5 separate regions of the Homo sapiens genome follow, and regions 1, 3, 4 and 5 are each linked to region 2. The links are contacts of gene promoters, found by promoter capture Hi-C in blood cells and fetal thymus (Javierre and others, 2016). All regions are on one chromosome and are shown on one strand. The core of a region is centred on a gene start or on the middle of the fragment in contact, and the rest is flanking DNA. Distances in the headings are between cores, read along the strand shown.

Region 1 (3,767 bases), core at 971-3,470, 570 kb after region 2:
TCTAACTATTTTTCCCTTTGGCATTATCCAATTTATATCCAATATTTAGTTTTAATCATTTGCAATTGTGTATGACATAGTAAAGATTCTGGGGAGGCCAAGATGGGCAGATCACGAGGTCAGGAGATCGAGACCATCCTGGCTAACACGGTGAAACCCCGTCTCTACTAAAAATACAAAAAATTAGCCAGGTGTGGTGGCAGGCGTCTGTAGTCCCAGCTACTCAGGAGGCTGAGGCAGAAGAATGGTGTGAACCCGGGAGGCGGAGCTTGCAGTGAGCGGAGATCGCGCCACTGCACTCCAGCCTGGGCGACAGAGCAAGACTCCCTCTTAAAAAAAAAAAAAAAAAAGATTCTGAGTCAAAGTGCTCAAGTTGAATGCATTTTGTCACCCACAAGACAAAACGTGTTAACCCCTTGTGGTTTACTTTATCTATAAAATAGAGATAACAATAGTTCCTGCTTCTAGGGTTGTTGTGGGAATTAAAGACTTAGAATAATGTTCAGCCTCTAATCAGTGCTGTCACAACTGTCTGATACAATTGTATTATATTTGTGTACTTTGTAGATTGATATTAAATCATACTTTTAAAAATAGGTGCTTAATGTTCCACTCAATTACCTTAAAACATGTTTAATTATGTCTCTATCCTACTCTTATAACACTTCTATAAAAACTTTTTACATATAGCGTCCACTTTTGGTTCAGTTTCTTAGGAAAATAACTTTGAGAGTCAGCTATCTGAACCAAAGAAACATTAACATTACCAGACTATATTGGGATTTTTGAGACTGGCTTTTATCAATTCTTTAGCTACGGGCTCTTGTCATCATCTCTACCAGTGACCTAAGTGTCAAACCCAAATGCCTTGTATCTGTCCCATTAAAGAGATGCAGCATCTGCTCCTTTCTTACTGTTTCCATTTCCTCTGCCATGCCTCCTCTTACAACCATAAATATCCAGGTCTCTTAGGTTTTAAACGGGGCATCTCTCAACCCCCACATTCTTTTCCTTGGTTATTCCCTTCCCTCCAACAGTTCAATTCACCTAGATCCCCACGCCTGAAATTATCCTAGATGTCCTAGAGGCGCCTCATCATTACAATGGTACATTATTCTCCACTCCTTTACATGTCACGCCAGCTTTCAAACTGAAAATCTGAGCGTTCATCCCTGGTGCATCACCTTTAAATTCGAGATCTCCAAAATCCAGGGTCATGTAACCTTAAAAAATTTTTACCCTCTCTTCTCCACTGCCCTTGTTCAGGCCTTATCTCTTCCAGCAGCTGTTCCAAAGGCCTACTCTGTTTTCCTTTCGGAGTGCTCACCTCCACCGAAGCCTCCACCCAGCTGCCAATTCTGCCCCATGCCTGATAATTTGCTCGTGCGTTGACATACATAAAATTTCTAAGACAAAAATTTTTTAATAATGGTAAATGAACCTTGGGAACTGCATACAGATCATACAGATCCATAATAAGAGAAAAGGTCCCAGATTAACACGGAAAACTTTCCATTTAACTAACATTTGCACTGGTAAACTTCATCAAGCAAGACCCTACTTAATCCCACATTACCTTCTACTGAAGAGGTTGTGGTCATTCTCTGGAAATATCTGAATTCATTCCTACAAGTTAGAGAAACAGCGTTACTCGAAACATTATCCCTTGGGCTCGAGCTCTAAGGCACCTGACAAACGGAGCGCTGTGGGTAGGGGTGAGGTGTTTTCTCCAGGGCTGGGACTTTGCCCTGGGCGAGGGCGCCGCAGGGCAAAGACCTCACCGGGCAGCAGAATCCGGGCAGAAATCAGCAACTGGGCCTCCCGCGCAGCAGAAAAGGGGAATCCAGTCGGGCCCACCCTTCCTGCCAGCGCAGACCGCAAGTCTGGCCCCATCCTCTCGCCGGGAGTCGGCCACCCCGACCGTGGGCAGCCTGCGCCCGTTTGGGTCCCATCGCCCCGGCCCGGCAGATACCTGAGCGGTGGCCAGGGCAGGTCCCCGTTCTTGCCGATGCCCATGTTCTGGGACACAGCGACGATGCAGTTTAGCGAACCAACCATGACAGCAGCGGGAGGACCTCCGAGCCCGCTCGTTACAGCAGAACGCGCGGTCAAGTTTGGCGCGAAATTGTGGCCGCCCCGCCCCCCTCGTCCCCATTTGTGCAGGCGAGGCCCCGCCCCCCCGCCCCGGCGCACGCAGGGTCGCGGCGTGCTCGCGCCCGCAGACGCCTGGGAACTGCGGCCGCGGGCTCGCGCTCCTCGCCAGGCCCTGCCGCCGGGCTGCCATCCTTGCCCTGCCATGTCTCGCCGGAAGCCTGCGTCGGGCGGCCTCGCTGCCTCCAGCTCAGCCCCTGCGAGGCAAGCGGTTTTGAGCCGATTCTTCCAGTCTACGGGAAGCCTGAAATCCACCTCCTCCTCCACAGGTGCAGCCGACCAGGTGGACCCTGGCGCTGCAGCGGCTGCAGCGGCCGCAGCGGCCGCAGCGCCCCCAGCGCCCCCAGCTCCCGCCTTCCCGCCCCAGCTGCCGCCGCACATAGTAGGTTCTGTCTGGGACTGGGCAGGGCCATCGGGGCTGGGGGGGCGGGGCTTGTGGGTAAGGCGGGCGGAGGCGGGGACCCTCCGCCCGATGATAGGGCTGGAGGAGGAAGGGGCGGGCTGAAGAAGGGGAAGGTGGGAAGAGCCCAGCCGGGGCTACAAATTGGGTGAAGCGCTGAGGTTTTAGTACTTCCGTTTGAGGAGATAGGCAAAGGTTATGCAGGTTTTTAATGGCAGGCCTGAGACAGGAACTCAGGTCTCCTGACTCCCATTCTGATGAGGGGGCTTGTGGGCAAGGGGTGCGTCTTTTAACCTCCATCCTTTTTTTTTTTCCTTGGTGGTCGAAGAGTTTTACTGATTTTTTAAAAAAGTGCTGGATTGGGTGACTAGAAGAAAGCTGCCCTTAGGTCTCCAGTTTTTAAGACTGCAACAGCATGGCTCAATATTTGAAATCACTACGGTTAAAAGCAGTCATATTGTGCAGTTCCCCAGTGAACTCTTTTTGTAGTTTAGATTATAAAGTCTGAAATACAGTTTGGGTGGATAAAGTTTCTTAGGATGGTATAGATGTGACTAATCATGGAGTCCTTCCTGTTGCCATCCTTCAACGCAATAAGTACGTTTGTTTGTTTTTAAACCAGAGATACTGCCACAGGAAAAGCCCAAGGGTGACCCCTCACTTGGGTCACCTGCACAGTATTTTTCAGATTGAGGCTGTGGAAGGGCATTGAAGACTGGTGTTTAGCCACCTACCGTGTTTTAATGTAGGTGGCAGCTTGGGTGCTTCAAAATCTTGTTCCTTTCGTATATATTTCTCCCTTAAAATGATTACTCCTCTTCTGTTTTTTTTGAGGACGAGCTACGTTTTCATGAATTCACCAAAATTTTGCACCCACCATTTAAAGGGTAGCTGGTGAAGGACTTATGTATGCTTTTGGCAAGTTTTCTGCCAAGAAAAAATTCATAATCTTGTCACATCTTTAGTGATGAACATAAACCTTTTAAACAGGAAACACTTAAATTGCAGTGAACATGTCAAAAATGATACTGTTCTTTTATTACCTATCTTTTCCCCTCTGTGCCTTTGCTACATAACTGTTTATTTCTTAGAGGTATTTTATTTAGCATATGTAAGTAGGGTGATTCAAGTTTTATAATTAGAGAAAGCTGAAGGCTCATTGAATCAAGACCGGTAGCAGCCTTGGTTTCAATTAATTCTAAACACGGCTTGAGTT
Region 2 (3,683 bases), core at 451-2,950:
TTCCACCAAAAGATATAAATCAGACCAAAGGAAAAGCCAAAGTTTTTAAGCATGGTATCTAGACAAGGCAACTCACATGACAATAAGACACAAAACTTTCTCACTCAAGATAGCAGGTTTGGTTTGGTTTGATTTTTAACTCAAGTTTGATAGTGTGACCAACATCATGTTAGGCCTTGTGAGAGACAGAAGTTGGGAAGAAACACCCCCCACCCCCCTCCACACACACACGGACACACACGGTCCCTGCCCTCAAGGACTTCCAGTCTAGTAAGTAAGTGGCAACAGCTACAGTACAATCCAGGTCAGCGAAAAATGGAGCCTAAAACAGAGCAAAGAAAGACGCAGGTACGTATAAGAAGTGGGGCCCCTGGGCCTCACAGTGGGCACTTTACCCCGGGTTGGATTTCATGGAGGCCCCTCCGGCCGTGTTGTCCGCAGGGTACGATTTTATGAAGGCTCTGAGTTGGTGGCTGACTCTGGCGTCACCATAGACACCACAATGCGTGGAGGCCGACTTGGCGTTTTCTGCTTCTCTCAAGAAAACATCATCTGGTCCAACCTCAAGTATCGCTGCAATGGTAATGTGCATTCTCGTTACTGTTCAACATTGTTACTAGAATTAGTCAAACACTGCCACCTTATTTTTATACCGCACTTCCCCCCCAAAAGCCCAACGCTCATACCACATAGTCATTAAAACCTGATAGTCCCTGTGTACCAGAAGTAAAAAGCAGATCACATTTATCCTATTTTATCCATGTGGAAATTAAGACCCATAGAATTTAACTGCATGGTTTAGGGTTTGGGGTTCAGTGAGAAATCCAGTCAGATTTAATTTACAGGAAGCCTTTATTTTCATGTGGTTAAAACATAATCACAGATGCAAAATCCATTCTGCCTGCTGATTTTCTGCACGGCCGGGAAGGAGCACTCCTGGGCTTTAAGCCAACGGTTTGCAAAGCAGCCTGCAGGAGAAAATGGCGGCGAGGGCCTGCGGGGCGTCCTGGGCGGGCTAACAGCGCCCCCTACAGGACGCCTGAGCCGCGGGCGGGGGTCCGGGGTCCGGGGTGGAAGGAGCCTCGCTAACCTCCCTGTGCCCATTCCTATTGCAGACACCATCCCTGAGGACTTCCAAGAGTTTCAAACCCAGAATTTCGACCGCTTCGATAATTAAACCAAGGAAGCAATCTGTAACTGCTTTTCGGAACACTAAAACCATATATATTTTAACTTCAATTTTCTTTAGCTTTTACCAACCCAAATATATCAAAACGTTTTATGTGAATGTGGCAATAAAGGAGAAGAGATCATTTTTAAAAACCGTGTTGCTCAGACATTGCTCTCACGTGGCTCAGGCTTTGAGGTGCCCGTTCTCGGAGGGATCCCTGTTAACTTGCAGGGTGGTAGTTTCTTCTCAGACCCGGTGGCCGATAAGATGAGCCTATGCGTGAATCACAAGGCCCAGGCCAGAGGTCTCAGCTGGGGTCCCCCCAGTTTGCTCCATACAAAACGCCTAACCGTTCCATGCTCACCTTGGCAGCCTCCTTATTTCGGGTAAGGGGTCTCAGAAACACGTGTTTGGGGTGGCACCTTCCCTAGGGAGGCGTTTTTCTGACCTAGTCCTGGGACAGATTTGCCCAATTCTTTCTGATGCTGTCATCCCATCCCACACCTTCCACAGACTTCTATTCTGGCCCCTTCAACGTAATTCTTAAGCTTATTTATATATTTGGCTCCCCCTAGTGGACTGTAAGCATATTGACAATAAAGGATCATGTCATTACAATCAATATCCCCACAGTACCTGGAATGTAGTAAATAGCCAGTAAATGTTTACTGAATTAATAAACGAAGAATGAATGAATGAATGCCTCTTAAAGGACAGTAGAGTGTACATGATCATAAAAGTCCTCCTCAACTCAAAAAGTCACAACATATCCTCTATTTGTGGTACCAGTAGCTGGATGTACAGCACAGAAACTTGCCTAATTTGTACACTAGCCTTTCTTGTATTTCAATTGTAAATCAAGATCCAAGCAAATTTTTATAAATTCTCTAGAAATTTTGTTTCAAAGAATATTGCTGTGCGGTTATATATTTTCTTATTCCAGAATTCCTAGAGATATATTAAATCATGTATGAAGAAAAAAACACCACAGTTTTATCATGACTTTAACAGTGAGAAAATACAATGGTGCATGCATGAGATCTGGAGGATTTCTGGACATCCTCCTCTCATGTACAGCCTGGAGATGTGTGTGGCCTTGTAATCCAGGACATCTGATCTCCTACATCAAAAACTCCAATGGGGCCAGGTGTGGTGGCACTTGCCTGTGGTCCCAAGCACTTTGGGAGGCCAAGGCAGGCAGATCACTTGAGGCCAGGAGTTCAAGACCAGCCTGGCCAACGTGGCGAAACCCATCTCTACTAAAAATACAAAAATTAGCCAGGTGTGGTGCCACTTGCCTATAGTCCCAGCTATTTGGGAGGTTGAAGTGGGAGAATCACTTGAGCTGGGGAGGCAGAGGCTGCAGTGAGCAGAGATTGCACCACTGTACTCCAGCCTGGGCAATGAGAGTGAGGCTGGTGAAAGGAGGCAGCAACCCACACCATGCCCACCCCTGGGGCAGCCTCCCTGTTGTCGGCTGTGCAAGCCCAAGAACGCAGTATGTCCACAGGAAACAGACTCTCTTGGTTAAATCTTTTGTGTCTATAACTATTTTAGAAACCATGGGCCCACAGGAGATCCAGAACATAATTCCATCCCTTAGGGAGCTTATTACATTTTTGGGAAGACAAAACTTGTTATTTATGCAAAACAAGAAACAAAGACGCATGTAGAACCAGCAGTGTGCTGAAGCCAACTCCTACCAGCTCATAAGAGCCAACTATTCAAGTTTTAGGAATATTGTGAGCCAGTTAAACGGTTGGTAGTTTGAAATTGGCCATGGTGGGAGTATTTACACAGAAACTGGCAAACACTACAAATCAGGGCTCCAGAGAACTGGTTGTTAAATATTTATCAGCACACAAGTGATTATTCTACCTTGTCCTATTCCTAGTTGGCCCTCCTTATATTTTTGAAGCTGATGTAGAAAACTTGAGGCTTTCAGAAAATTTCTTGCATAAGAAATGAAGTAAGAAAAGTGAAAATGGGTGGGGTGCTATGGCTCACACCTGTAATCCTAGCACTTTGGGAGGCCTAGGTGGGAGGATCGCTTGAGGTCAGGAGTTTGGGACCAGTCTGGCCAACATGGTAAAACCCCATCTCTACTAAAAATACAAAAATTAGGCCAGGTGCAGTGGCTCCTGCCTATACTCCCAGCTCCTCAGGTGGCTGAAGCACAAGAATCTCTTGAACCCGGGAGGCGGAGGTTGCAGTGAGCTGAGATCGTGCCACTGCACTCCAGCCTGGGCGACAGAGCAAGACGTGTCTCCAAAAACAAAAACAAAAAAAAAAAAAAGTGAAAATCAGGAAGCACTTGAGAGAAGCTAGCCAGTTGCAGACTGACGGGATGAGCTAGCAGGTGTGGTATGCTCTCCCCCAGGTAACTCCCTGGGCTTCTTGGATACTTGTTATACTCAACCTTAGCACAATGACTCAAATTCCTATTACAGTTCCATTAGGTTAGTAAGAGCCTCATTTGAATCTTACACCTCTAGGACTGAGTGGCCATCAG
Region 3 (4,116 bases), core at 754-3,253, 950 kb before region 2:
AGCCCTCTCCATCCTAGTCAACACTGGATCCACCTAGTGCCTCTGGGCCATAAGGCTGAGCAGAGTGAGCTTGTATTAGTTGGTAGCTTTTAAAAAATATAATAAGAAAAAAGTAGAGATTCTCCAAACTCTAGCCTGGTTTCCTAGATTGAGAACTATGATATTTTTCTCTGATAATTTAATATCTACTCTCCTACAAAAGCTCAAGCCTGAAGATACAAGACTATTAGAAGAAACATGACTACCCTCAGTGTATTAGAAAAGAGGTCATGCAGCTTTCTAAACATTATTGAATTGTTTGAGCTGTTTTGAAATTGTAATTCTTTTCAGCTATTAAAAAGAAGAGCAATGAGACTATATTGCTTGTATTTTATTCTTATCCTGGTTCTACAATTTGCTAAGTCTTACATGAAACCTCTATACCTCAATTTCTTCACCTATTTAAAAGAAAAACCTACTTCACAAGTATGCTGGAATTTTAAAGGAGCAGGTGGCAGTATTTAAAAGGAAAAGAGGCCCTACTGGCTCTTTCTGGAGAGCCAGTCAGGGAATTCTAGAAAACAAAAATAGGCCAGGTGTGGTGGCTTACGCCTGTAATCCCAGCACTTTGGGAGGTGGACGGATTACTTGAGGATAGGAGTTCAAGACCAGTTTGGCCAACATGGTGAAACCCTGTCTCTACTAAAAATACAAAAATTAGCCAGGTGTGGTGGCACACACCTGTAGTCCCAGCTATTCGGGAGGCTGAGGCATGAGAATCACTTGAACCTGGGAGGCAGAGGCTGCAGTGAGCTGAGATTGCACCACTGCACTCCAGCCTGGGAGACAGAGTGAGACTCTGTCAAATAAATAAATAAATGGAAAGGCAAAGAAATTGCTAGAATTTTGTTACTAAGAGTTAATAATCCACCCCTAATCCCTCAATGCACAGAAACAGAGCCAAAGCAGCACAACTTTCAGAGGCTGCATATGGCTAGTGGAAACAAGAGTGAACTCCACTTGTTTTTTGTTTTTTGTTTTTTTTTTTGGCAAAGTTGTTATCTATCATTTCTCTTATATTCTCAAACCAAGCTCAGTATTTAAAGCTTTCACTCACAGATGACATTTTATTGGACTTGCTGTTCTATTACTGTGTAAAATGCATGTTCCTTTAATATTCTTTTCAGAGTTTTGTTGCCACCAAAATATTATAACCTTTAATCATTTTTATATCCATCGTTTTTTAAAATATTTTTCTGAAAAGGAGCTATGGTAAAGACATTCTTGAATTAAATTATATGTCAACACTGCCTCCTAGTGGTATAGTTCATATTTTGAAATTGTTTTTAAAATTTCAGTCCCTCCTCCAAACATGTGCATTTTATTTCCAGAAATCTTGTTCATTAAGAGAGAAAGCTCATTTAATACCTAAGAGTTGATTTATGTTAAATAGACATTTCTCACTGGTAAATATTTTTTATGGACTCCGAACCAGAGGGACCTTAGAGATCAAAAGTCCAAACTATCCTTTTAAGGATAAGATTACCAAGGCAGGATGCAAAGTCAGGAAGCACTTCTCACTATTCCAAGGCTGTCAAGAAAGACGGCTTTAGCTTAGCCTTTTGTAGGAAGGGTTGGGGAAGCTGGGGGGCAGTACCAGAACAGATGGTCCACAAAACTAAGGAGTCATCCTCCAGCCAGGAATAAAATAAAGGTCTTTGGCGTTACTCAGAGTAAACATGAACTCACTAAATAAACTGTTTGCAGTTTGTACTCTGACACTTCTACACACTGTAGCAAACCACCTTTGGATAAGACAGCCAAGCCAACGCAGACCCCTAAAGGAAACAAGAACTGCGCAGGAATGAATCAAGAACATCCGTTCCCAACTTCTCCAGATGGGGGCAGCAGGTCGCCAGCAGGAAATGCATGAGTAACCTTATTTTGTTTGAACTTAAGTTATTTCATCAGGCTAAGCTCTAACAGTTTTGGTCAGTTTTTTCTTAAGACATGTGGATCTTTGAATCACATCCAGGACAACGCACCCATCAAGAAAAGCCTTTAACAAGTTTGAGTCAGGAATTAAAAAAGAGGAAGGAAGGGAGAAAGGGAGGGAAAAAGGGAGGGAGAACGGGAGGGAAGGAAAGAAAGGAGAGAGGGAGGGAGGGAGGAGAGAGGCAGGGAGGGAGGAAGGAGGGCGGGGAGGGACTGCAGGAGAGCAGGCAGGCAGGCAGGCTTTATGCATCTCCAACTAGATCCCCATTTTCCCCAGAAACGTTTTTTTTTTTCCAGCCTTCAGCACACTGAAGGGCTTGAGGGCTTTATAGACTGTTCTCCCAAATAGCCTCCTTGATAGTCAATAACATCCACTCAGTCAGTCTGGAACCTCCCACGTGTTACCTGCCAGGTCAAGGACCCTGGCTCTTAGATAACAAAGGAGGAAGAAGTCAATTTCAAGAGAGAAAAATAGGACTTATGAACGGCTTCAGAAATAGTATGCCTGGTGGGATGTTAAACGACAGAATTAGAGATAGCAAGGTATAATATTTCTAAACATCTTCAGGAAGGAATATTTAGTGTTTGAACAGAAAATGATGAAAGGCAGGCAAATGCAAAGAATTCTCAAAAATGGTAACAGGAAGGGTAGGATCCTTTGGTAAAATTGGTGGGAGTGTGGTGAGAGAAAGGAATGGCCAGAAAATGCTTCCGGTTTTCAAGCAGCTGGAGGCATTCTGTTGGCATTGGATAGATGAAAAATTAAGATGATGGAAAATGAGAGAGACAGATGTCATCATTTATGCTGCTGTGAGTTACAGGAATAATACCAAACAAGTCATGTACAGCAAAACAGTAAAAACAGGTTAATTTATATGCCATGAAATCAAACGCATGATCATTTTAACTTGTGGTTAGATGGTTAGATGTTTACATTTAAATTTATTAAAGCTTCCAGGCTGGGCACGGTGGCTCACGCCTATAATCCCAGCAGTTTGGGAGGCCAAGGCAGGCAGATCACTTGAGGTCAGGAGTTCAAGACTAGCCTGCCAACATGGTGAAACCCCATCTCTACTAAAAACGCAAAACTTAGCTGGGCGTAGTGGCAGGCGCCTGTAATCCCAGCTACTTGGGAGGCTGAGGCAGGAGAATCACTTGAACTTGGGAGGCGGAGGTTGCAGTGAGCCGAGATCGCACCACTGCACTCTAGCTTGGGCAACAAGAGTGAAACTCCATCTCAAAAAAATAAATAAATAAAAATAAAAATAAATAAATTTATGAAAGTTTCCTATGTAAATACTTACATGAAATGTATTAAGGGAAACATTTCACTTATTTTTAATAAAAAGATATTTCTCTAAATGCCTGAACTATCTTTAGCAGTCATCACTTGCATGCAAACTGTTAATGTACCCTTCAGAAATTATTCCAGTTTGTTCTTTTGGGCAGGTTCAGTAAGACCTCTGCTTGGCCCCATTCTGTGGTTATTTGTTCCAATTTACTACATGATCTTGAAAGGAAAAAGCTGAATATCTTTTTAAATAGTTCAGACTTTTTCTCAAGTCAGCCTGGTCATTCTTCCAATTATTCTGACTTAATGAGATTTTACTGTTCTTTGCAAAAGTTAACGTCCTAAACACCTGAGGTAGCTTAGTGGAATTCACCTATGGCTCAAAAACACTAGTGGCACATAGCAGAAAAAGCAAGGAAGACATTTAGAATCAAGACTTTGGGGTGCAAGTCCTAGCTTTGCCCCAACTCCCTGCAGAACATTGGGTAAATCACCCCACTTCTCTGTCCTTCAATTTTCTCAACTGTAGGATAACAAGTTTCTAATGCCTTGCTGGAAAACTCCACAGTTGTTTGCGATTTGATGATATAAATAAATAATAGCCTCATCATTGTCAATAAATATTTACTGAATGCCACTTGGTGGTATGTTTCCAGCGGACTGAAATTGTTAATTAATTATTCCCCTGGCTAAACAGACAGCCGACTAAAACAAGTAACACTGTTCAGAGGGCAGGGAAAATGTTACTACCCTAGACTCAGCCTGGTGCTGAAAAATGAAAATGTCATTCCTCCCCACAGGTACTGTTTTCTAAGGAGACTTGGGTCTGTGGTTTTTCATATTATGAACTG
Region 4 (4,301 bases), core at 808-3,307, 570 kb before region 2:
CTCAAAAAAAAAAAAAAAAAAAAAAACCAAAACAAAAAAAAAACAGTTTTACCTACTCTTGCAATACTCATTCAGTAAGATAGATGTGAAAATTTTATCTCAATTCTTCTAGATGGTAGATGGGCTAAAATCTAAATAAATATTCCTTATCACATGTAGATTCTTTTGAAATGAACATATTTAACAGACCTGAAACTTTGCAATGCCTCAAAATCACTCAACTTTTCAAAAACAAACAGAAATATTAGCCACGGGTCATAAGGCATTACAAATATGCAACACAAAAAAACTGCACATTTCATTCCACGAGATACGACCTGAGATATAAATCTATGTAAAATGTTTTATAGTCATTTAAAAACTACATCAGAAAAAAATTATATCAGAAAACATTAAGCACTCGGCACTCATTTTCCCTACTCTTCTGTCCAGTTAGTCATATTAATCTGAAATAACAATCCAGTAACTAAAAATAAATACTTCAACTAAACACTAAAGACTGAAAAAAAAAAAAATCACATGGCAGTAGAGAGGTTAGACCTTTTGGGATATAACCACCTTTTCTTCTGAGATGTTTAATCACTCAAAACTATAAACTATGAATAAGGACAGTTTCTTCTGTCAACCCCTTAACTCCCAAATTCACTATTTTATGACCCATAGTTAGTGACTCTGCTAAGAACATACCATGCTCTTTGCTACATTCTTACCTCTCCAATGAAATGTCCTAATTCTGAAAAAGCCCCGTTCAGCCAACTACACATCTCTCAGTCACCATCCCTCCCCTCCCCACTTCGGAACCTTCCAGGGCCTGCCCAACTGTCCACTTCCTCTACCCAGCCAGAGTTCATTGTTCTGGCTTGGTGTTTCCACAGGATACAAGACACAAAACCAAATTGTAAATGATTTTTAAAATTGCTTTCTTATTCTACTTCCCTGATCATGTTCTTACTCTGCTTAAAACCCTTTAGTAATCTTCACACAGAAGAGAAGTGCTTTTCAAATTACCAGTTGCTAACACAGCGTCATTAAATAAATTGAGTGGGTCACCATCATCAGTCTATCTTAAAAATAAAATAGAACGGAACAGAATAGAAACTACCAGAGTGTACCATACAAAGCAAGGGTATTATGTAGTGACATTTTATCATTTATATACAAGCATATTGGGTTGCAATGTAAAGATGCTTATCTTTCCAACGGGTCATAGCCAAAAAAACCTCTAAACACACTAAACTACAGGATAATCCAATCTTTCATTTGATCTACATGGTTCTCCAACCCAGTCCCTGCATAATAAGGCTCTAGACCTATCTCTTGCTACACCAAAGGGAGCTAGCTCAAGCAAACAAGCTTGTCATGCCAAACTCCTTTGCAGTTCCTCGTTTTAGTGGTGTCAATCACTGTTCTCTCTGCCTTGAATGCCCTCTTATTTGTCTAAGAGGCTCACTTGTACTCATCTTTCAGTATTTAACAACTATCACCTCCTCTACAAAGCCTTTTTATCCTTCCCTCAGCAGCTAATGCCCCCCCAACACACACTTTGTGTCTCCATAATGCCCTACATTATAGCTCCTACAAAATTTCATTGCACATTTTAATTTTAGGCTTGACTGTCTGCCCAACTTCCAAAGTATAAACTCACTAAGGGAAGGAGCACATTGTATTGGCCTTCCTATCAGCAGCACTGAGGTAAGTACACGCACTATAACAAAGGTTCAAAGTTGGTAAAATGAACAAATGACGAATTAAGGACTTGCATCTAAGTTGTCTATTGTCAGATATGATAGGGTGGTTATCTTTGCAATAAAACCCATTTATAGTGCTGGATCAAGATTTTCACATTTTTGCTACAACCCCTAGAGAGCAGAACCCTGCAGTTTGAGGCAGAAGGAGGTGTCAGCTTCCCATCTTTCAGCAAAGAGACTCAGTTTGGGCTGCAATGTAGCAGCACTCATTTCCATGCTTCTGGAAGTTATTTGGGGAAAGAGGGGAAGGAAGGACTCCAGAAGTTCCCATAGGCAGGTGAGATAAATCAGAAACAGCATTAACAGATTCCATTAGCAGGGAGAGCCCCATTTTATGTATAAGTAGCTCTTAATAAGGGAAGGGAGGGAAAGAATTCTTTACCATTGCTGATGGCACTAGGTTGCCAAAATGAGCTAAGTAAAAACAAAGGGTTTCATGAAATAAGTGGTTGAAGTTACTTGATTTCTGTTGCCTACTGTGATAGTTCTGAAATAGCTACTGACTCACTGCTGTCATTATGAGATACTATTTGGAGGTGGGGGTGGGGGTCATACCTAACAGGGGCTCCTCACTGAGGCTTCAAAACTTTTCAGAGACTTCATTTTACATACATGAATGCCTTAATTTTTAGGGGATCTGATACACCTATTTTACAAACCCATACTTTAGTTGCCTTCACTGCAATTAACAGTTCATGCAACATCCAAGATACTTTGACAGACTTTGCCAACTGTCAAGTTTCAGCTGTTCTTCTCCATTTCCAAAAAGTTCATAAACTACTATTAGGGGAGCCATAATTTTTTTCTGCCCAATCACTGATTTTATTAAAAATAATTCCTTTGCTTAGACTGCCCCTAGACTTGCAATAATTATCTACAATTAAGACGAAGATAAATCCTTATTATAACCTAACATTAGTTTAAAAAAAGAAGGTTGTAATATGTGAAACACTTTACCCACAGTATTAAATTTTAGATATCTATTACAGTAAGGTAATTATGGATTGCCAAGGTAAAGCTTTAAAAGCCATTTAAAGCCCTGTTTCCTTTTGCTTGAAATAGGTCCAGGCAGCTATGCTAATTCCACAAACATTTATTAGGCATAAATACGCATAAAGTGTGGAAACGTCAGCAAATGCCTTTGCTGTATGCTCTTCTACTTCCATCTACCCTTCCTCTCTCTACTCAAGTCACTATCAATGAGAAAGGGTCATAGCCCCAAATACAGGCTTTCCAAAAAAAAAAAAATAGCACCACAAAATGCTCGCTCCTTTTTCTCCTCAGTCCATATATAGAACTTTATTAACTAAAGGGCAGATACATTCATTTATAAACAAATTAATTATGCTAAGTGTCTAAATGCATGTTATGTGTGGTGCTAACTTTCCCACTTTAAACAACAGCCCCCTTAGTATTAAATTCATCCTGTCTCTTCAGATTCTAGGCGCTTCAGGAGCCGCGCCTTAAGGTGCAGACATGGCCAAGTCCAAGAACCACACCACACACAACCAGTCCCAAAAATGGCACAGAAATGGTATCAAGAAACCCGAAGCACAAAGATACGAATCTCTTAAGGGGGTGGACCCCAAGTTCCTGAGGAACATGCAGTTTGCCAAGAAACACAACAAGAAGGGCCTAAAGAAGATGCAGGCTAACAGTGCCAAGGCCATGAGTGCACATGCCAAGGCTATCAAGGCCCTCCTAAAGCCCAAGGAGGTTAAGCCCAAGATCCCAAAGGGTGTCAGCCGCAAGCTCAACTTGCCTACACTGTCCACCCCAAGCTTGGGAAGCATGCTCGTGCCCGCATTGCCAAGGGGCTCAGGGTGTGCTGGCCAAAGGCCAAGGACAAGGATCAAACCAAGGCCCAGGCTGCAGCTCCAGCTTCAGTTCCAGCTCAGGCTCCCAAAGGTGCCCAGGCCCCTACAGAGGCTTCAGAGTAGATATCTCTATCTGCCAACGTGAGGACAGGACTGGTGCGACCCCCCGCCAGGCTGCCATCTGCATGGGGCTGTGGGGCTGGGGTCCTCCTGTGCTATTTGTACAAAGAAACCTCAGGCAGGGAAAAAAAAATTCATCCTAAGCTTCCCTTGGTAAAATGACAGGCATTCATGCAGCTTAAAGGTTCTGGAAAACTGATTTTCTTCCATGATGCTACTACTCCACAGTCTAGACAAAATGCAGCCATCAACATGAAAAACTGCTGCTTGATTTTTTTTCCTCCAACATGTTTTAAACAGAGCTGCAGATGCTCAAGGGAAGCCATATTTCTAAGGTTTTGAACAGTAGTATTTTTCAGTATTTTTCTCATTTAAAATTGGTGCAATTCATCCAAAACATTTTTCAAATGCCATTATTTTTCAGCGTTAAGCGCTTAAACTGCTTAGAGTGAAAAAGGTCTCCATCAGAAAGATCGACTTGCAGAAACCAACTAGTGATCATTAAAATGAGGAGGAGAATAAAAAGAAAGCAATTCGTTTTTTACAGTTTGGAGAAATCTTTAAGTCATCTCTAAATCGTTCATTTTACAGGTAAGAAATAGAGTCCACAGAGGTC
Region 5 (3,808 bases), core at 75-2,574, 850 kb before region 2:
AACCCCGTCTCTAATAAAAATACAAAAATTAGTCGGGCTTGGTGGTGTGTGCCTGTAATCCCAGCTACTTGGGAGGCTGAGGCAGGAGAATCGCTTGAACCCGGGAGGCAGAGGCTGCAGTAAGCTGACATCGTGCCACTGTGCTCCAGCCTGGGCCACAGAGTGAGACTCTGTCTCAAAAAAAAAATTTTTTTTGGCTGTTTATTCAAATATCAGGACAATACTGAACCAAGTGTTGAAGCTTAGAGTTTAAGATGGACAATACTGAACTAAGTTTGAAGCTTAGCTAGTTCAGTACTGTTCTGTCATCTGAATAAACAGCTGTTTTTACTGAACCTAACAATACAAGGCTAATCCAAACGGTTTTGTATATACTTTAGAAATGTGAATAAATGTAAAAGAACTAATTTCCATTGTGCTTTACTATGGTGCACAACATCTGTGACTTGAATACTAATCGGAAAAAGAATGCCAATAATTATTATAAAGTCTACTAATTTTAAGAATGTGTTTCATCATAGTTTAGTAAGAATAGCAGAGATTGATATGACTGTTTTTGTATATGCATTCTGGGAACTCCCATAATTGAATACAACTTCAAAAGGGCTAAAGCCCAGTGACCTCAAAACGAGGTTCACAGAACAGTACATAATGATGAAACCTGAAGCAATAAAACACCAATGAACTGAAATGTAAACATTCATGCTGTTAGGACATGGCATTTTCATTTTTCATTTTGTTTTGGACTGTTACTGGGCTTTCCTCAGACACCTTCCTTTCATATATTAAACTCTGTCTTTCCAGAAAAGCTTCTGGAATTGTTTTTGTTTTTTGTTTTGGTCTCAAGGGCATTAGGGGAGAACCTAACAGGCTGGGGGCGAGCCCCACATAGTTCAGCACACCGTTCCCCGCGGCAACACGCTACTTCTGAACGCAGGAGCGACTCTCCGTCCGGGCTCCCTCCAGGAGAATGGAGGCAAATGTACATTCGAGGGTCTCAATACCTGGAATTCGAAACGTCTCAGTTCCTCCGCCTTAGTTCCTCTTTTCCCGGGTTCGGAGGCCACCTGTGCAGCAGGGCACACCTGCCACTCTCATCGCCCTCGGAGCCGGCAACCAGCCGACAGCCGGCTCCAGCCCCGGGGAACTGGAGGCTGCGCGGAAGGAAGGAGAGTCGGGAGCGCGGCCGCTCGCGGGCTGGCTCAGGGGACGCCGAGAGGAGGCGCCGGCGCGCGCGGGCGGGGTGCGCGCGCCGCCGCCGCCGCGTCACCAGCGTGCGGCACGTGCCCATGTTTACGTCCCTCGTGGAGCCGCCGACGTCAGCAGTCGAATGGCAACATTGTGGCGATGCTGAGGCGCAGAGTTTAGGAGACGGGTTCATCAGTCAGGCCGGCTCCGGGCTTTCTGCAGCAGCACCAGGGGCGGGGGCGGGGATCTTGACCTGGGCGAGCGACCGGGACGCATACAGCGCCGGCCTGACCCCGCGGGACCCGCGCCTCACCACCGGAGCGCCGCAGACGCAGCTCCACGGCCTCGCGCGGGGGGCGGCGGGCGGCCGCGAGGCGCTGCGGCAGCGCGGAGCTTGTAAACAGATCCGGCCGCAGGTGACCATGTGAACTACCTGCTCCCGGGACGCTTATTGTCCTTCTCTCGATCCGCGCCACAAAGGAGCTCGGCGGTCGGGGCGCGGAGGGACAGGCGAACGAGCCGGGAGAGCCGGCCGGCGCACTAAGATGGCTGAAGGCGCCCGGCGAGGGTGAGCGGGGGGCGCGGCGCAGCCAGCGGGGAGTCCTCGGGCGGGCCGGGCCGGCGGCCCTTCCCCGCGGCGAGAAGCCGGAGCCACCATGTCGTTCGCGCTGGAGGAGACGCTCGAGTCGGACTGGGTGGCTGTGCGGCCCCATGTGTTCGACGAGCGCGAGAAACACAAATTCGTCTTTATTGTGGCCTGGAACGAGATTGAGGGCAAGTTTGCCATAACCTGCCACAACCGGACGGCCCAGAGGCAGAGGAGCGGCTCCCGGGAGCAAGCGGGGGCGCGAGGGGGCGCCGAGGCCGGCGGAGCTGCGTCCGACGGGAGCCGCGGGCCCGGCAGCCCGGCGGGCAGGGGTCGGCCCGAGGCCACTGCCTCTGCAACTCTGGTTAGGAGCCCCGGGCCCCGGCGGAGCTCGGCCTGGGCGGAGGGCGGCTCTCCTCGGAGCACTCGCAGCCTTCTGGGGGACCCGCGGCTGCGGAGTCCTGGCAGCAAAGGGGCGGAGAGTCGTCTTAGGAGCCCAGTGCGGGCCAAACCCATCCCGGGTCAGAAAACATCTGAAGCCGACGATGCGGCGGGGGCAGCCGCTGCAGCAGCCCGGCCGGCGCCCAGAGAGGCCCAGGTGTCCTCTGTACGGATAGTGAGCGCCTCTGGGACGGTCTCCGAGGAGATAGAGGTGCTGGAAATGGTGAAGGAGGACGAGGCACCTCTGGCGCTCTCGGACGCGGAGCAGCCGCCGCCCGCCACCGAGCTGGAGTCTCCGGCCGAAGAGTGCAGCTGGGCCGGACTGTTTTCTTTCCAGGACCTGCGCGCCGTGCACCAGCAGCTGTGCTCGGTGAACTCGCAGTTGGAGCCGTGCCTGCCGGTGTTCCCCGAGGAACCTTCGGGCATGTGGACTGTGCTGTTTGGGGGCGCCCCCGAGATGACCGAGCAGGAAATCGACACTCTGTGTTACCAGCTCCAGGTCTACCTGGGCCACGGCCTGGACACCTGCGGCTGGAAGATCCTCTCCCAGGTGCTCTTCACCGAGACCGATGATCCCGAGGAGTATTACGAAAGCCTCAGCGAGCTGCGGCAGAAGGGCTACGAAGAAGTGCTTCAGCGGGCCAGGAAGCGCATCCAGGAGGTGAGTGAGTGAGCTCCTAGTCTGGGCTCTACTGGTCGCTTTTGGTTTACTGGCCAAACCAAAGGCTGGAGCCTCGGTGTCGGGTGTGCGCAGTAGGACGGTTGTTTTTCTGGACAAGCGGAAACCAAGAGGGGTTCCTGATCTACCTTGCCCTTCATCCCTCTCGGTGGCTGCTTAATTGACTCTCTGAAGGACCTTCGTCTTTATTTCCTCCCCCATTTATCAAAAGTAGTAAGTGCGCTCTGTGTACTACTCAGTACTGGTAATGCGCAATTAAAGCCACTAAGAAAAGTGTTCTGTAAGCATGGGCTACCTGAGCATTTTTCTACCCCTAAAGCTCTTCCAGCAATAACTGCCCAGATGTCAACTCTTCTTTGTCCTTGTCACCTTTATTTAAAATAGTTTGTCTTACGGAGCAAAGTTGATCTGTTTTGATTCTTCTTTGTGCAGTGTGGCAACCTACGCAAATTTTAAATTCATTTTTAAACGAGTGACCTAAGTGAAAAAGCACCTAGTGACTATCGGATGCAAATTTATTTTTAAAAGGTTTTTTAGAAGTGTTTTGTTTCTTTTTTTTTGGACTACCTCAGGTCTTTACAGATGGCTCAGGTTTCACTGCTGTTTTAGGTAGAAATAAAGATTCTGGGCAGGAATGTTCGTTGTATTTTTGTACTTACTGTAGAAGTACAAAAGCCTTTTCAAACTAATCCTTAAAATAACAAAAAAAAAGTGGAAGAAAGGGTCTGAATGGATATACATATGGGGCTCTAGAATGTGTAGGAAATGTGTAATTCATGCCTGCTCACTAGCTTCTGCTGAAGGAACTTTACTAAAAAAGTCTTTTAAAATAGACCCAGTTTTCCCTAATGGATACTACTACACGTAGTTTCTCAAAGCAAGTTACTGTTTTTACTATTAATGCAATTGAGATT

Evidence for each region. Contacts are between HindIII fragments. The CHiCAGO score rates a contact against its expected background, and 5 or more counts as called.
Region 1: the fragment with the promoter of MSH3 here is called in contact with the fragment with the promoter of THBS4-AS1 in region 2 in 1 of 17 cell types (neutrophils); the score reaches 6.2 in neutrophils.
Region 3: a fragment that was not itself captured here is called in contact with the fragment with the promoter of THBS4-AS1 in region 2 in 2 of 17 cell types (erythroblasts and fetal thymus); the score reaches 8.3 in erythroblasts.
Region 4: a fragment that was not itself captured here is called in contact with the fragment with the promoter of THBS4-AS1 in region 2 in 2 of 17 cell types (erythroblasts and megakaryocytes); the score reaches 5.3 in erythroblasts.
Region 5: a contact is called between the fragment with the promoter of JMY here and the fragment with the promoter of THBS4-AS1 in region 2, in 1 of 17 cell types (fetal thymus). The highest score is 8.0, in fetal thymus.

Annotation. Positions count from the first base shown.
Region 1 is chr5:80,652,432-80,656,198 of GRCh38, forward strand. MSH3 (mutS homolog 3) reads left to right here and starts at 2,221. Exons shown (of 24, transcript NM_002439.5): 1 at 2,221-2,533. The coding sequence starts at 2,297. It overlaps DHFR (dihydrofolate reductase), which reads right to left and starts at 2,552. Exons shown (of 6, transcript NM_000791.4): 1 at 1,973-2,552; 2 at 1,577-1,626. The coding sequence starts at 2,058. RefSeq lists a silencer at 2,047-2,656 and an enhancer at 2,074-2,842. The HindIII fragment of the contact is 21,768 bases long and covers 1-3,767 here.
Region 2 is chr5:80,081,965-80,085,647 of GRCh38, forward strand. It overlaps THBS4-AS1 (THBS4 antisense RNA 1), which reads right to left and starts at 1,701. Exons shown (of 8, transcript NR_109930.1): 1 at 1,536-1,701; 2 at 396-573. It overlaps THBS4 (thrombospondin 4), which reads left to right. Exons shown (of 22, transcript NM_003248.6): 21 at 442-581; 22 at 1,116-1,323. The coding sequence ends at 1,177. RefSeq lists silencers at 1,010-1,099, 2,215-2,429. The HindIII fragment of the contact is 5,954 bases long and covers 1-1,717 here.
Region 3 is chr5:79,131,932-79,136,047 of GRCh38, forward strand. It overlaps BHMT (betaine--homocysteine S-methyltransferase), which reads left to right. Exons shown (of 8, transcript NM_001713.3): 8 at 1-357. Among named protein-coding and RNA genes, the nearest start is that of BHMT, 22 kb to the left of the region's middle. The HindIII fragment of the contact is 1,840 bases long and covers 1,084-2,923 here.
Region 4 is chr5:79,507,210-79,511,510 of GRCh38, forward strand. All of the region lies in intron 1 of HOMER1 (homer scaffold protein 1), which reads right to left. It also overlaps the pseudogene RPL29P15. Among named protein-coding and RNA genes, the nearest start is that of HOMER1, 4.8 kb to the right of the region's middle. The HindIII fragment of the contact is 1,413 bases long and covers 1,352-2,764 here.
Region 5 is chr5:79,234,807-79,238,614 of GRCh38, forward strand. JMY (junction mediating and regulatory protein, p53 cofactor) reads left to right here and starts at 1,325. Exons shown (of 11, transcript NM_152405.5): 1 at 1,325-2,876. The coding sequence starts at 1,845. LOC124901011 (a long non-coding RNA gene) reads right to left here and starts at 1,217. Exons shown (of 2, transcript XR_007058836.1): 1 at 1,005-1,217. RefSeq lists silencers at 1,227-1,276, 1,317-1,366, 1,397-1,836, 2,007-2,276, 2,560-2,854 and enhancers at 1,779-2,415, 2,467-2,886. The HindIII fragment of the contact is 5,598 bases long and covers 808-3,808 here.